Linked DNA regions of Homo sapiens: regions 2, 3, 4 and 5 are each linked to region 1. The links are contacts of gene promoters, found by promoter capture Hi-C in blood cells and fetal thymus (Javierre and others, 2016). All regions are on one chromosome and are shown on one strand. The core of a region is centred on a gene start or on the middle of the fragment in contact, and the rest is flanking DNA. Distances in the headings are between cores, read along the strand shown. Region 1 holds the start of ATP13A4-AS1 (ATP13A4 antisense RNA 1). Region 2 overlaps MB21D2 (Mab-21 domain containing 2). Region 3 overlaps FGF12 (fibroblast growth factor 12). Region 4 has its middle 41 kb from the start of FGF12. Region 5 overlaps MB21D2 (Mab-21 domain containing 2).

What was found. The method cuts DNA at HindIII sites, captures the fragments that hold promoters and counts their contacts. A CHiCAGO score of 5 or more calls a contact.
Region 2: a contact is called between a fragment that was not itself captured here and the fragment with the promoter of ATP13A4-AS1 in region 1, in 3 of 17 cell types (M2 macrophages, monocytes and M1 macrophages). The highest score is 6.5, in M2 macrophages.
Region 3: a contact is called between a fragment that was not itself captured here and the fragment with the promoter of ATP13A4-AS1 in region 1, in 2 of 17 cell types (M1 macrophages and M2 macrophages). The highest score is 8.3, in M1 macrophages.
Region 4: a fragment that was not itself captured here is called in contact with the fragment with the promoter of ATP13A4-AS1 in region 1 in 1 of 17 cell types (M2 macrophages); the score reaches 5.2 in M2 macrophages.
Region 5: a contact is called between a fragment that was not itself captured here and the fragment with the promoter of ATP13A4-AS1 in region 1, in 3 of 17 cell types (M2 macrophages, monocytes and M1 macrophages). The highest score is 9.9, in M2 macrophages.

The regions. Positions count from the first base shown.
Region 1 is chr3:193,551,932-193,554,631 of GRCh38, reverse strand. ATP13A4-AS1 (ATP13A4 antisense RNA 1) reads right to left here and starts at 1,419. Exons shown (of 2, transcript NR_121666.1): 1 at 1,345-1,419. The region is part of intron 1 of ATP13A4 (ATPase 13A4); the gene reads left to right. The HindIII fragment of the contact is 3,457 bases long and covers 1-2,700 here.
Region 2 is chr3:192,819,807-192,822,506 of GRCh38, reverse strand. The region is part of intron 1 of MB21D2 (Mab-21 domain containing 2); the gene reads left to right. Among named protein-coding and RNA genes, the nearest start is that of FGF12, 94 kb to the right of the region's middle. The HindIII fragment of the contact is 6,078 bases long and covers 1-2,700 here.
Region 3 is chr3:192,560,994-192,563,693 of GRCh38, reverse strand. The region is part of intron 2 of FGF12 (fibroblast growth factor 12); the gene reads left to right. Among named protein-coding and RNA genes, the nearest start is that of FGF12-AS3, 46 kb to the right of the region's middle. The HindIII fragment of the contact is 877 bases long and covers 854-1,730 here.
Region 4 is chr3:192,766,836-192,769,535 of GRCh38, reverse strand. No RefSeq gene overlaps it. Among named protein-coding and RNA genes, the nearest start is that of FGF12, 41 kb to the right of the region's middle. The HindIII fragment of the contact is 262 bases long and covers 1,219-1,480 here.
Region 5 is chr3:192,800,859-192,803,558 of GRCh38, reverse strand. The region is part of intron 1 of MB21D2 (Mab-21 domain containing 2); the gene reads left to right. Among named protein-coding and RNA genes, the nearest start is that of FGF12, 75 kb to the right of the region's middle. The HindIII fragment of the contact is 5,224 bases long and covers 1-2,700 here.

The DNA.
Region 1 (2,700 bases), core at 170-2,669:
CTTTTCTAAAATTTCACTCTGGTATTACACGAGAAAAGGTCATGTTTGAGAAATCTCTCTATCCTGTAAATATAACCTCTGACAGCAGAAATTTGCTAGAATGAAAATATTGTATTCATCTTGTCAAGAATGTTTTCTTTTTAAAGAAAACAGAGAGGGAGAGAAGCACCATGCACTTTATGATTCTTGTTTGAGCCTCATTGGTATAGCCAGTTCTGTTCAAAACACCTAACAATTTTAGGAAATCCCTAATGTGAGGAGCAGTGTATTCCCTGATAGGAAGAAGCAGAAGTTCAGCAGTGAAGCAGAAGTGCAGCTGGGTCTTTGACCTTCTCTTCTCAAATGTCTTGTTCACCGAGTCTGTTGGACAGGGAAGACATGCAATATTAACAATTATCAGCCTACACACATTTCTGTTTTCTTCTAGAATTTTACTTTTGTGGCTTCCTCATTATAGAGATTGGTTACAGAAAACTTTCGGTAGTTCAGTATCTCTTTGATTTTAGATGTGCTTCTATCTTGAGAACTATAGGAAAATCAAAGATGACTTTCATGCTCAGGATGAATTTAAAACTGTATTTCTCAATTACAATATAATCAAGAGAGAGTTAGAAATATGTACTTCTGTTTAATAAGATCTTTCTGCTAATTGTGTAAGCATAGTCTTTTATGCCAGTAATGATGTAATTAAAATGTTAAAATGTGACGCTCTCATTCCATAATAGCATTTAATCTTCCTGGAATTAATATGTAAATAACAAACCTGAAAGATATTTACTTAAAATGTTTTCTTGGTTAATTGCTTTAGCCCTGACTATTACATTCTTTGTTCCTAAACTGGTCTTTCAAGTCTAATCTGCTTACCTGTTCCTATAGCAACAACATTTTTTGGACTTTCAAGAGTAGATCCCTTCTGCTATCAAAGCTGAAAAAATTATAAAGAAGTAAAATGTACATTAATTCAGGTGCCTTTCTTAACCATATCCTTTACTTCATTCAGATTTGACTGCCAAATGAATTGCCTTCAGCCCCTCCACAAATGTCACCAGAAATGGCTTGCTAGCCCACATTGGATATCATCTTTGTTTCTTTAAAGAGTTTTCTTTAGGAAGTGAATATCTCATTACTCTCGATATTAAGTTGAAAAGTTTATCTTCATCTTGAATACTCTTCACCAGAAGGCAGGGGCTCCTTCCTCTGAAACATTTTTTTTCTCTCTCATTTAGAAATACACTCACTCTTTTCCAGTAAACCCCTTTCTGCTCTCAGACAATTTGTCTTTCAAGTCTCAATAAGAATCATTTATTTTCCAGAAGACATTCATGGTTGTAGGGAAACTGTTACCTCTTCCCTAGCATACATATTCCACCAAAGCAATTTAGTTAACAGTTCATCTTCATAATGGCACCATCAGATGCATGGAGAACTCCACGTAGTTTTGTATGCAGCTGAAAGCCCAGTTAGGAGAGGCCCTTTAATATGGAAAGGGACACTGTGTTTTCTGGTAGGCAGCCATTTGGCCAGTAGTCTCAGCAGAGGTGCAGCAATTAGTATGCACTCCTGAGCTCTCCATCCTCTTCTGCCTACAGAAACCTGGCCACCTGCCTGTTGCTGTGTCTGACACTGTGTTCCTTTTTAACTCACTCCTCCATCCCTTGCCCAGAGCAGTAAACTTTAAAAATTATCAAGCTATATATATAGTCTACATATTTTGTAGTGATTTTTAGTATACACAGCATTTTCTTGGCCACTAGCTAATTTAGTTTTCCTCACAACCCTATGAGGTAGATGCTGTGATTCTAACTTTAAAGATGAGGAAATTGATGCACACAGGCTTTCCCTAAGGTTGCATCAACCAGTAAGTCCAGGAGCTGAGGCACCGCACAGGTTAGTTTAAGTTGACAGCTCTTTTGTCTCTGGACCTGAACATAGCCCACTGATACCTTTTCCAGTTCTTCCGGAGAACATTCCACTCTTAACAGAACACATTCCCTTCCTTCATAAAACAAAGCTAAGGAGAACATCAACATCCAGTCTTCTTAGATTCCCCAGCATCTGTTCTGTTATAGATAATTTGAGTTTCTTTTTTCTTCTAGATAATTCGAGTAGCTTAAATAAGTCTGTCTTCTCTGACTTCCAAGTCCAGAAATGTGTCACACCAAAGTGTTTAGTTTCATGCTTTATAATATACTTTACTTGAACCTTTGCAAACGTAATTTCTCTTGTGGTAGAAATTACTTCAAATTTCAAGAGAAAACAACATGCTAGGGTTTAGACCTCATGTCAAATAAAGAAGAATATTCTGAGGCCTAAAGATGCCTGGGATTATCTTCCATTTTGGAGTTAAAAAACCAAAAACAGGCTGGGCATGGTGGCTCGTGCCTGTAATCCCAGCACTTTGGGAGGCCGAGGCGGGCGGATCACCAAGTCAAGAGATTGAGACCATCCTGGCCAACATGGTGAAACCCCATCTCTACTAAAAACACAAAAATTAGCTAGGCAGGGTGGCGTGCACCTGTAGTCCCAGCTACTTGGGAGGCTGAGGCAGGAGTATGGCGTGAACCTGGGAGGCAGAGGTTGCAGTGAGCCAAGATCGCGCCATGGCACTCCAGCCTGGCAACAGAGCAAGACTCTGTCTCAAAAATAAGTAAATAGATAAAAATAAATAAATAAACAAGTAACAAACCAAAAGCAAACAGG
Region 2 (2,700 bases), core at 135-2,634, 730 kb after region 1:
GTGATTTGCATTTGCTCTTACATCTATTAGAACTTCTATGTGGATATCCAAAAGGGGTGGGAGGAATAAAGTTACTTGGTGAGTTCCTATACTATTAATGAAGTCTCTGCCTCCATGCCTGTTGAGACTGGTATCTGAGGTGAACTCCTGTCACCTTTTCTGTTGAATCTTATTTTGGGGAGAAACCAGTAATTGAAGTGAAACAGTGTAAGTGACTCTCCAATGTATCACAAGCTCTCTTCAACTCAATTTAGAAACATCTCTTATTAGGAATGAAAACTTTAAGCAGATGCCCCATTCCAACCTCCCACCCCCACCCCGCCTTTTTTCTGTTGGACTGTTATGCTTGTTTGTGGCACATTTAATTAGCTTCTCAGGGACTTGCTGTGAATAATAGCTCCCTCACATTTAGAAATGCGATAGGTATACACTTGTTTGTTTAGAATCAGATCACGTATTTCCATGTAAAGATATTTCAAATAATGCCTGGGTTCACAGGTGCCATTTTAACTCAGTTTGCAACCGGAATGCAGTACTCATCCTATTATCTTGGGTTTGGGGAGTAGGAGGCTGTATAGGAGGGGAGGGAAAGGAAGAGGAAGAGAAAAAAATTGAGCACAGTTTTGAAATTGACAAAGGGTTTCCTGGGTGCTGCCTCTTGCTGCCTCCCTGTCTCCTACTTCTGTCCTCAGGACCTTCCAGGACCCTGACGGCCCATCATGGCACTTTGTAGACCTCCAAATCACTCAGTCAACTCTGAATCCAACTCCCACTGTGGCAGGGCTGGTGTTCTTTGCTGCGTTAAGAATGTTGTTCTCCAATTCCAGACATTTAAACCAAAGAGTAAATGTTAATTAGCGCCTTAACTTCCAGAAAGCAATTTCCAGTTTCCCTTTTAATCGTGACAATGAACCTAATTGGTAGAATTAGGCAAGAAGAGAGGGAAGGGGCAGAAAATTCTGGACTGAGAACTTGCCTCTAGGTTTGGTGCTCCCTGCTTGTGCCTGGATCTCCCAGCTTCCTTCATTTCTGGATCCCATAGTGTTTGAAAGCTGCAGGTGCTCTGCGGTCTCCCAGGGCAATAGCGAAGTTGTGAGATGAGGTTGAGGAATGAGGTGGGAGCAGGTGTGGATAGTTCACACTACTGACCTGGATGAAATGTTTGTGAGTCAACCCTACCTTTGGAGTCAGAGAGCTTGGTTCAGCTATCAGATCCACTGACTATGTAACTTTGAGCATTTATTTAACCTCAAGGTCTTCATCATAAGAGGGCATTATAAAGATTAATAACAATTCACAAGAAACCTTTTGGCCCAAAGTAGGTGCCCAGTAAATGAGTGATGTTATTAAGAGCCCAGGTGGTGGTGGATAGTGACATTAGCAATATCAGGAAGGCAGCAGCATTAGTCAAATAAACGATGTGTTCATTGTTATTTGAAGGGTACGTAATGTTCTGTTTGTTTGTTTAAAATGGATTTGTGAGGGATGGGTGTGAAGGATGGCTTGAGGCCAGGAGTTCGGGACTAGCCTCAGCAACATAGCGAGACCTCATCTCTACAAAAAATATATATAAAAAAAAGCTGGGTGTGGTGGCACCGCCTGTAGTCCTGATTACTCAAAAGGCTGAGGTGAGAGGATTGCTTGAGCCCAAGAGTTTGAGGCTGGAGTGAGCCGTGATCACACCGTTGCATTTCAGCCTGGGTGACAGAGCGAGCCCCTGTGTCAGAAAATAAGATTTGGGGGGATGGAAAACAGGGTGGAGCGCGAGTTAGGTAGTCAGAAGTTGTACCTCCAGATGCTGGCTGAACGAGGCAGCGGAGCATCTGTGAGGAGGTTGGGCCTTTGCAGAGAGAGCCCGGGGCGGGACGCCGGAGGAATATTTGACACAGTCTGAGTGGCCGCTACGCAGACGCTTTCATCAGCAGTCATTCCTCGTCTGTCTATAGGCGAGAATCAATAACAGAAGAAAAAGGTGACAAATCATTCATTGCCCAGAGACTGGCTGTAAATCCAGTGCCTGTTATTTTCTTTCTAATCATTTTAACAAAACTTCTGTACGAGTCCTTTCCCTGCAACACAGAACCTCATCCCTGGACTTTGAAAGGCCTTTGGAAAGATCTGAAATTACATTTTGTATTATCCGAAGTTGTTATCTCGGGGGAGTTAAAGGTCTACTTTGCTCTTTGTGCTTAAGTTAGATCAGCGTTCATAATGTCATAGTTTTCTTTTTTACAATCTGTTTCATGATACTCATAAATTTTAGAGAAATCTGTCTGAAGGTTCTGCATACACCTCTGTGTGTTTCTGGGGGGTGTGTACTTTTATACATCTTAGCTCTGACTTGCTGTTATACAAACTCACTCTTAATATCGCATCTCCCTCCCCTTTCTCTCCCCACAGAAACACAAACACACTTATTTATGTATAGAGTCCTGAAAGTCAGAAAGGACATTAAAAACCATGTATTCCACCCAACTTACTTGGTAGCCAAGGAAACAGAAACCTAGGGAGAGGAGCTGATTCCCCTACCCCCTTGTAGGGAGCACCAGGACTAGGCCCTGGGTGTCCTGCTTCAGGTTCAGAGCTTGGGATGCAGAGCTTGTCCCCAGAGCAGGAGCTGCAGGGCCTGCTCTCCAAGCTGCCTGCACTTTCACAGATGGATGTCAGGTGCCTCCCAAGCTGGAGTACCTGGAAATGGGT
Region 3 (2,700 bases), core at 43-2,542, 990 kb after region 1:
TATCATTTTATTAATTATGTAGAATTTCTCTCTTTGTTTCAGGACACTAATGATACATCTTTGCTGACAAAGCACTATGTAATTGTGTTCATACTTTTAAACTTGTCAGCTGCTAATGAAAATGCCATTCTCAAATATTATCCTTCCTCATTGGATTTAGCTTGATTTTTTTCCTCTTTAGGGAGTACAATTGAAACTACTCTGGCTCTCCTCAGTCTCCAGTATTAAATCATTGGCAGCAGCTGGTAACAAACTAGGAGGAGGATGGGATTGTGTGTGCAAGTCTTCATTGTTTGAGCAAGTGGTGAATGTGTGAGTTGTGAGCTTGGGGGCATAAAGAGCCTGGTGAACCATCTGCACCCAGAACCATTAAATCTTGGGATATGAGAGATATTAAAGATTGGATTGTCTAGCCATTCATCAAATGCTTAAAATTTGTGTCTATTTACCTGTTTTCAGTTTATACAACTTTTTAATAATATTCCATTAATCTTGGATAGATCTAACTTTGTTATTTTGAACTGAAATTGCTTTACTTTTAACTTCAACGGTAGGTCCCAGTTCTAAAGCTCTCAAAATCACATAAAAAAGTCTAATCTTCTTTCATGGCATATAAAAGCCACTTATACGTCCAGTATGAGTCTTCTCAAGATCCTTGGAGTCTTTCTGTGATAGCACTTTGAGTGTCCTTATTACCCTGGTCATACTCATGTGGCAAACAATGTGTCTAAGAGTATGTAAGCCAAACAGTGTTGGTTTCAGTATGGGAAATCCGTGTGAATGCTTGATAGAGAACGTTCAGGATGAACAATGACAGTGTGAATAAGAGAGATAATTGTTTGCAAGAGAAGCTTAGTGGATGAAACATAGCTTCTCTCATAGCACAGTGAAACATTGCGCCACTGCACTCCAGCCTGGGCAAAAGAGTGAGACTCTGGCTCAAAAAAAAAAAAAAAGTCTCAGAGGTAGGGTTAGTATCACCCAGAATTTATCTTCTGTACCCAAATTTCCATACTAGTTGCCATAATGAAGAGTATACCTATTTACTGATTACAAATATGTTTTATTGAAGATAATATAAATTCACAGCAATTATTTGTCCCATGGCGACAAGATGGCCTATATAATTTTTTTATTTATTAATAAGAGCTGTATCTAGTACAATTCTACTTCATTGTGGGTTTTTTATTTCAATCAAATTTTGAACTTTACTGAAGAAATCCCTTCATGTTTTTCTTATTATTTACTTCATGCATTTATGAAGTAAAAATACATGCATTCTTTGTGTTTCTATTGTCTAATTAAAAATTTAAATGCAATAAAATGCAGAAAGTTTAAATGTGTAATTTATTGAGTTTTGTTAAATTAACCTGTATAACCAACACATTCATCAAGACATACAACATTTCACTTGGGAAAATTTCTTCACATCCCTTCCAGTCAGTCTCTTCCCCACCCACCCACAACCAATTATCTAATTTTTCTCATCATAGACTTGTTTGGCCTAATCTTGAATTGCATATAAATGAATTTTTTCAGTCTATACTATTTTGAAACTTCTTCCTAAACAAAATTTCTGAGATCCATCATGTTGTTGTGTATCACTAGTTAATTATTTAAAATTGCTGAGTATAAGGTCTATTGTCTAAGTATTCCATGGTGTATTTATTTGTTTTTATTTTGGTAGACATTTGAATTATTTTCAGTTTTTTACTAACTTGAATAAAGCTTCTGGAAATATTCATGTACAAGTCATTTTCTTTTTTTTTTCTTTCTTTTTTTCTTTATTATTATTATTATTATTTTGCCATGTTTTAACTTCTCTTGTGTAAAAACCCAGGAGCAGAAGTACGGGGTCATAGTGTAAGCTCTTGTTTAACTTTATAATGAACTGGGAAACAAATTTGCAAACAATCTGATACTATTTTAAGTGACATTTCTAGAAGTATTATTTTCTAATCGTTTGTAACATAGTACACTCCCAATGTATGAGAGTTGCAGTTGGTCTGTATCCTCACAAATAAATAGTATTTTCCAGGCACGGTGGCTCACGCCTGTAATCCCAGCACTTTGGGAGGCCGAGGCGGGCGGATCACAAGGTCAGGAGATCGAGACTATCCTGGCTAACACGGTGAAACCCCATCTCTACTAAAAATATAAAAAATTAGCTGGGCGTGGTGGCGGGTGCCTGTAGTCCCAGCTACTCAGAAGGCTGAGGCAGGAGAATCGCTTGAACCCAGGAGGTGGAGGTTACAGTGGGCTGAGATTGCACCACTGCACTCCAGCCTGGGTGAAAGAGCGAGACTCTGTCTCAAAAAAAAAAAGAAAAGTGAAGTTTCTCACCATCATTTTAATTTTCATTTCGCTGAAGACTAATGATGTTGATAACTTTTCATGTACTTATTGGTCATTTGTATGTCCTCTGTTCTGACGTGCCTGTTCAAATATTTTGCTTATTTTAAAATTTGTGTTGTCTTTTTATTATTGATTTGCAGAATGTGTGTTTGTGTATATAGCTGTGCGTGTGTTTGTGTGTGTGTATATATGGCATATATATATGTTGGTTACTCCCCGCTTCCCCTTTCCCTTATAGATTTTCCTGTTCTGGGCATATCAGATAAATGGAGTCATGTAATATGTGACCTCTTGTGACAGTCTTCTTTCACTTAGCATAATGTTTTCAAGGTTTGCCCATGTAGC
Region 4 (2,700 bases), core at 100-2,599, 790 kb after region 1:
TCACTGTCTTGGTGGACTTAGTGTGATCTGACATGAATTTCTTTTATCACCCACTGTGAACTCAGCAACCTGTTGAATTTCCTTTTTGCACTGGCTTCCAGAACAGTAGTTTAATTATCGATTGTGGTAACAATTATTGCTAAGACATATTAGAAATATTAAAGTTTGATATTAAAGTGGGATAAATTATGCAGACAAACAATCAAGAGTTATAATCCCCCATTCATTACAAAGAACTTGATGTTAAATGAAGATGAAAATCTTTATTGCCTAGATGCATCTACATATATGGAATTTTCCTCTTTTTTTTTCTTTTTGCTTTTCTTCCTAGTTTTAAGAATAATGTCTTTGCTGATATCCAGACATCACTCAGGCCTGATATAACTCTTGATGGGAATGTATACCACTCTCCTAAGCCCCATGCATATGAAAGTCAGGCAATTGAAGATCTGTACAAACCATGGTGCTAATTATGACACAGGAAAGCAACAAGGGTTGAAAATATCAGAATCTGACTTAGTATTGTTACTTACCATAGGAAAAAAAAGACCAAGCCCTGAAAAGTAAGAACATTAAAAATTTTACCTCCTGCTACAGTTAAAATGAAATAATTTTTAAGTGATTTTTATAAATGCAGTTCAAATTACACATCAAAGACATGCTAAACATGTCACACTGTCACGTTGTTTCTTCCACACAGTCCCTCACTATAGGACCATAAAAACATTTCCCAAATGATGGTGAGTGCTTTCTCTAGCTTGTCCTCAGAACCACTAACATCTCACATCTGTTTCCTTCTATATTGCATCAGATATATCTATCCTTTTCTGTGTGTTGTATTTATTAAAACACTCTTTCAGCCGGGCGCGGTGGCTCACGCCTGTGATCCCAGCACTTTGGGAGGCCAAGGCAGGTGGATCACCTGAGGTCAGAGTTCGAGACCAGCCTGGCCAACATGGTGAAACCCCCGTCTCTACTAAAAATACAAAAAATTACCTGGGTGTGGTGGCCAGCGCCTGTAATCCCAGCTACTCGGGAGGCTGAGGCAGGAGAATCGCTTGAACCCCGGGGGCAGAGGTTGCAGTGAGCCGAGATCGCGCCATTGCACTCCAGCCTGGGCAACAAGAGTGAAACTCCATCTCAAAAAAAAAAAAAAAAAAGAAAGAAAAAGAAAAAACAGTCTTTCATTTTTGAGAAGGGTTACAAATTGGTGAAGCTTATATAAATATAATTCTTAGGATTATATTTATTTTAGATAAGTGCACCACTGTTTTCTTCTGCTACTTTACTGCATTTTATCTTTTATATGCATTTACCTGGATTCCACTGTTAGGTTACATTCTCTTTGAGAACAGCACTTATATGTTGTTTAAAAAAAATCTAGCAACCAATGAGTTCCACATATTCTGATGAAAATAATAGGTGCCTATTCCCCTCAGCTCTATTTTGCCTAGTTGGAAACATGACTTTAAAAGAAGCTTGGGCAAATCAGTAGTCAGAGGTCTGGAAATCAGGAAAGTCCTGAGTTTTCAAGTCTAACTCTGGTGCTAATTTGCTCAGTTATTTTTGGTGGATTTTTTTCAGCATTGCTTTTCTTGTCTATAAAATTAAGGGATGTGGGCTAGCTAGATTTTCTCTAAAATTTCTGTCATTGTATAGTTCTGTAGAAATAAATTATTATAAACCTTAAACTATCTTTGATTTAGCCCTGATTAAAATGAAAATTGAAGTCTGAGGCTATAAGGTATTTTGTATTGTTTTGTTTTGTTTTTTAAAGCAGGAGCCTTGAGAGCCTGATAAGCTGTTGACACAAGTGCTTTTGAGAATAGCAGGTAGAGTAATTACTAGCTTATTTTTAAATTGACAAAGGAAAAGGTTAATAAATGTTTGCATATCTTCATTTACCACAAAATGTAAGTAAATCTGTACTTACTTGCATCTAATTATTAAGGAAATGGAGTTTGTATCTCAATTAGTTAACCAAAAGGGGAGATATACTTTCCTATCATGTTACAATTTTTATTTCAATAGCAGTTCCAATAGTTGTTGGCTTATATCCTTGAAATTATATTTATTATAATTACATGCATTTGAGAAAAATATTTTTTATAGAAAACTATCTAAAGTTATAAACTGTTCACCATGGGACGTTGTACATGCTTAGAAACTGTGATAATTAACCTGCTATGACCTCACCAATTTTGCTTTAATTAACTCAACCAGTATCAACACTGTAGTTTCTATTAAAATGAGAACACATATAAAATGCTCTTCTCAGTAAACAGTCATTTTACAAGTAAAAGAAATGTCTCTAAGTAAAACACAAGATCAAATATTAATTTTTTACAGCTGATACTAAGAAATCTAAGTTATCTCAATGTATTATTGAAAATTCAGCAACATAATGCTCTCTCTTTTTATGATAAAAAGTCACATAAAATATCTTTTTTATTATTATTTAAGTTTTAGGGTACATGTGCACAATGTGCAGGTTTGTTACATATGTATACATGTGCCATGTTGGTGTGCTGCACCCATCAACTCGTCATTTAGCATTAGGTATATCTCCCAATGCTATCCTTCCCCCCTCCCCCCACCCCACAACCGTCCCTGGTGTGTGATGTTCCCCTTCCTGTGTCCATGTGTTCTCATTGTTCAATTCCCACCTCTGAGTGAGAACATGTGGTGTTTGGTTTTTTG
Region 5 (2,700 bases), core at 75-2,574, 750 kb after region 1:
TCGAGTTCTGTTACCATATCGTTTGTAAAATTGCAGACTAATGGGCTCAGGGAGGCTAAATGGAAATGTGGATGTAGGAAGGGATTAGCTTCTGGAACAGTGTGGCCTTAGGGACTTTGTTTCTTATAGGGGCTTAGTAAATGTGTGTCTGCAATACTCTTTCTGCTACTAAAGGGCTTTCTTCACTTTAAAAGGAATAAGAAGTGTTCAAAATTACCCTATCTCCTGAATATTAGAATTTAGCCAAATACTTGATGTTGACTCCTTTGAATAAAGGGTCAACATTTTAACGAGATGCATAAGCATCATTGAGAGGAAAGAGAACCTTTTATCATTGGCAGGAATTTTCTAGTGTGTATATTGACAAGTGAAAACAGGTTAAAACTTCTTAAATCCAGCAGAGGGCAGAAGGGAGTTTTAGCTATGGCTTACCCAAGACTCTCCAAACAAGATTGTAACAATCCAAGGCAAAATTCAGTGGCACTTTTGTAGACAAATTATCTCCAGGTTGTTAATGCACAAGTTACCCTGATTATATAGACGAGTCTTAGTTGGTGGGCTCAAAGCCAGTTTGCTTCTGTCCAGGACAAAAGCATATATAGGATTTTGAGTTAGTTACGCCTAAGAGGAGACAACAGTGTGTACTCAAATAACAATATCACTTTAATAGATTCAGATCTTATTTACTAACCACAACACAGCATTTCACAGTACTTCTCACGTATATTTATGGTATTCTGAATGGTAGAATGAAAGGATGTTTGAAATAATGAAGAGTAAACGATTTCATTATCAAATATATCTCACTGAAACTGACTGTTCCAACATGTGAGTTCATAAAATAATGAAAATGATTTTCACAACCTAATCTGGAATCTGAGAAATCAATTTTATCCTTTAAAGCAATAACCAAAACGTGGGATGGTAGTATTTCTTTACATGGCAAAGATGAGGTTAATATTAAAACATAATGACATTTGAGAAATGGATCTTTGTCTTGGCATTTATAAGAACTTTCAATCCGGATTAAGTTTGGCTTTAAAAAAGAAAACACTTTAAAAAGGAAAAACATATTTTCCATGCTGAAGACGGTTTTTGTTTGGGTAGTAGGTAGTATCTTCTGTTTTGCTTGGATAGTATTTAGTGTAGTATGTTGGGTTTCTCAGGACGCAGCCTCTGAAATGGAGTTAGGATGTTTATGAAGCAGCACCCTTGGGATCTACACCTGTCGAAGTGGGGAAGGAAGCAGGTTCAAGTAGGAGAAGCTGAGCTTCCCTGCAGGCGCATCATTCGCCACAGCCAACCCCACTGGGAACTCAGAGTTTGAGTGGCCCTTCAGAGTATCCTGAGCTGGGACACTCCCACACCGATCAGTTATTGGATGTGCACCTGCAACCCCCATCCCAGCCACAGGACCTGACCTGGCTAAGACAGCCCTTTGCAGCTGAGACAATCCTTAAGGGCTAGCATTTAAGCAGCTGGAAGTCCTTTATTGAAGAGGGACCTGGATGCCGTATCACAGTGCAGATAGTGTGAGAAACAGCCAAGAAGTCAGGTTTGTTGGATGTTCTTTCTGATGAATTGTTGACACTATAATGTTGGCTAACTTACGGTTTTAAAAAGAAAATGATAACTTGCCATATTTCTGTGTGTAAAGAATTGTACTAAATAAAAGACTTTTTCATGGTTAATGTGGTTTGGAAAATAGGATTTTAAAGAGCATATTTTAATAAATGAGCGTTAAATTTTAAAGTATAATTGTCTTAGTTCATTCAGGCTGTTATGTCAAAGTACCTAAACTGAGTAGCTTATAAACAGCAGGGATTTATTTCTCACCATTCTGGATGTCAAGAAAGCCAAGATCAAGGTGCCTGCAGATTCATTGTCTGGTGAGGGACAGCTTCCTGGTTCATAGATGGCTGTCTTCTCACTGTGTCCTCACATGGCAGAAGGGGTAAAGAAGCGCTCTGAGGTTTCTTTTATAAGGGTACCAATCCCACTCATGAGGGTTCCACTCTCACGCCTGATCACCTACCACAGGCCCCAGCTCCTAATACTATCACATTGAAAGTTGGGATTTCAACATGTGAGTGGGAGTCACGAACGTTCAGAGTATAACAATAATAGTAAGAAAACACAGGCATATGGTTTATTTGATTTGGGATTGTCCTATGAAGAGCAAACTATGAATTATAATGAATAATGGAATATTATAATACTTTGTGGTAGGTCTTGATCTTTGGGGAAACACTGTTAAATAAATCACAGGATGACGCTGGTAGTTTGTCAGAGAATCAAGCGTAAGCAAGTATATAATGAAGGAGGGAAAATGTATATGTTGTTTATGGAACAGTCATTTAAGTCTAGCCTTTAAGAATTTATGTTAATTCCATCTATTAATGCTATCTACCTATTAATTTCATGCATTTTTTCCCTTATCATTTAGTCATAGCTTGAATTATGTTCCTACTGCATGCACGGAGTCTTCTATACCTGCTTAATACATGAGACATGGTTCTCAAAAGGACCCACAATCTCTTAAAAAATCACATTTGTTAATATCATCGCCAATTTAATCAGAAACGTATACAATTCGAGAAGATGTCACGCTCATGGTGCGGAGTTTTCTAAATTTAATTTTCCCTTAGAAATTTCAGCTTTATCATTGGCAATAAATATTGTCAGTAGTTTCCTTGAAGC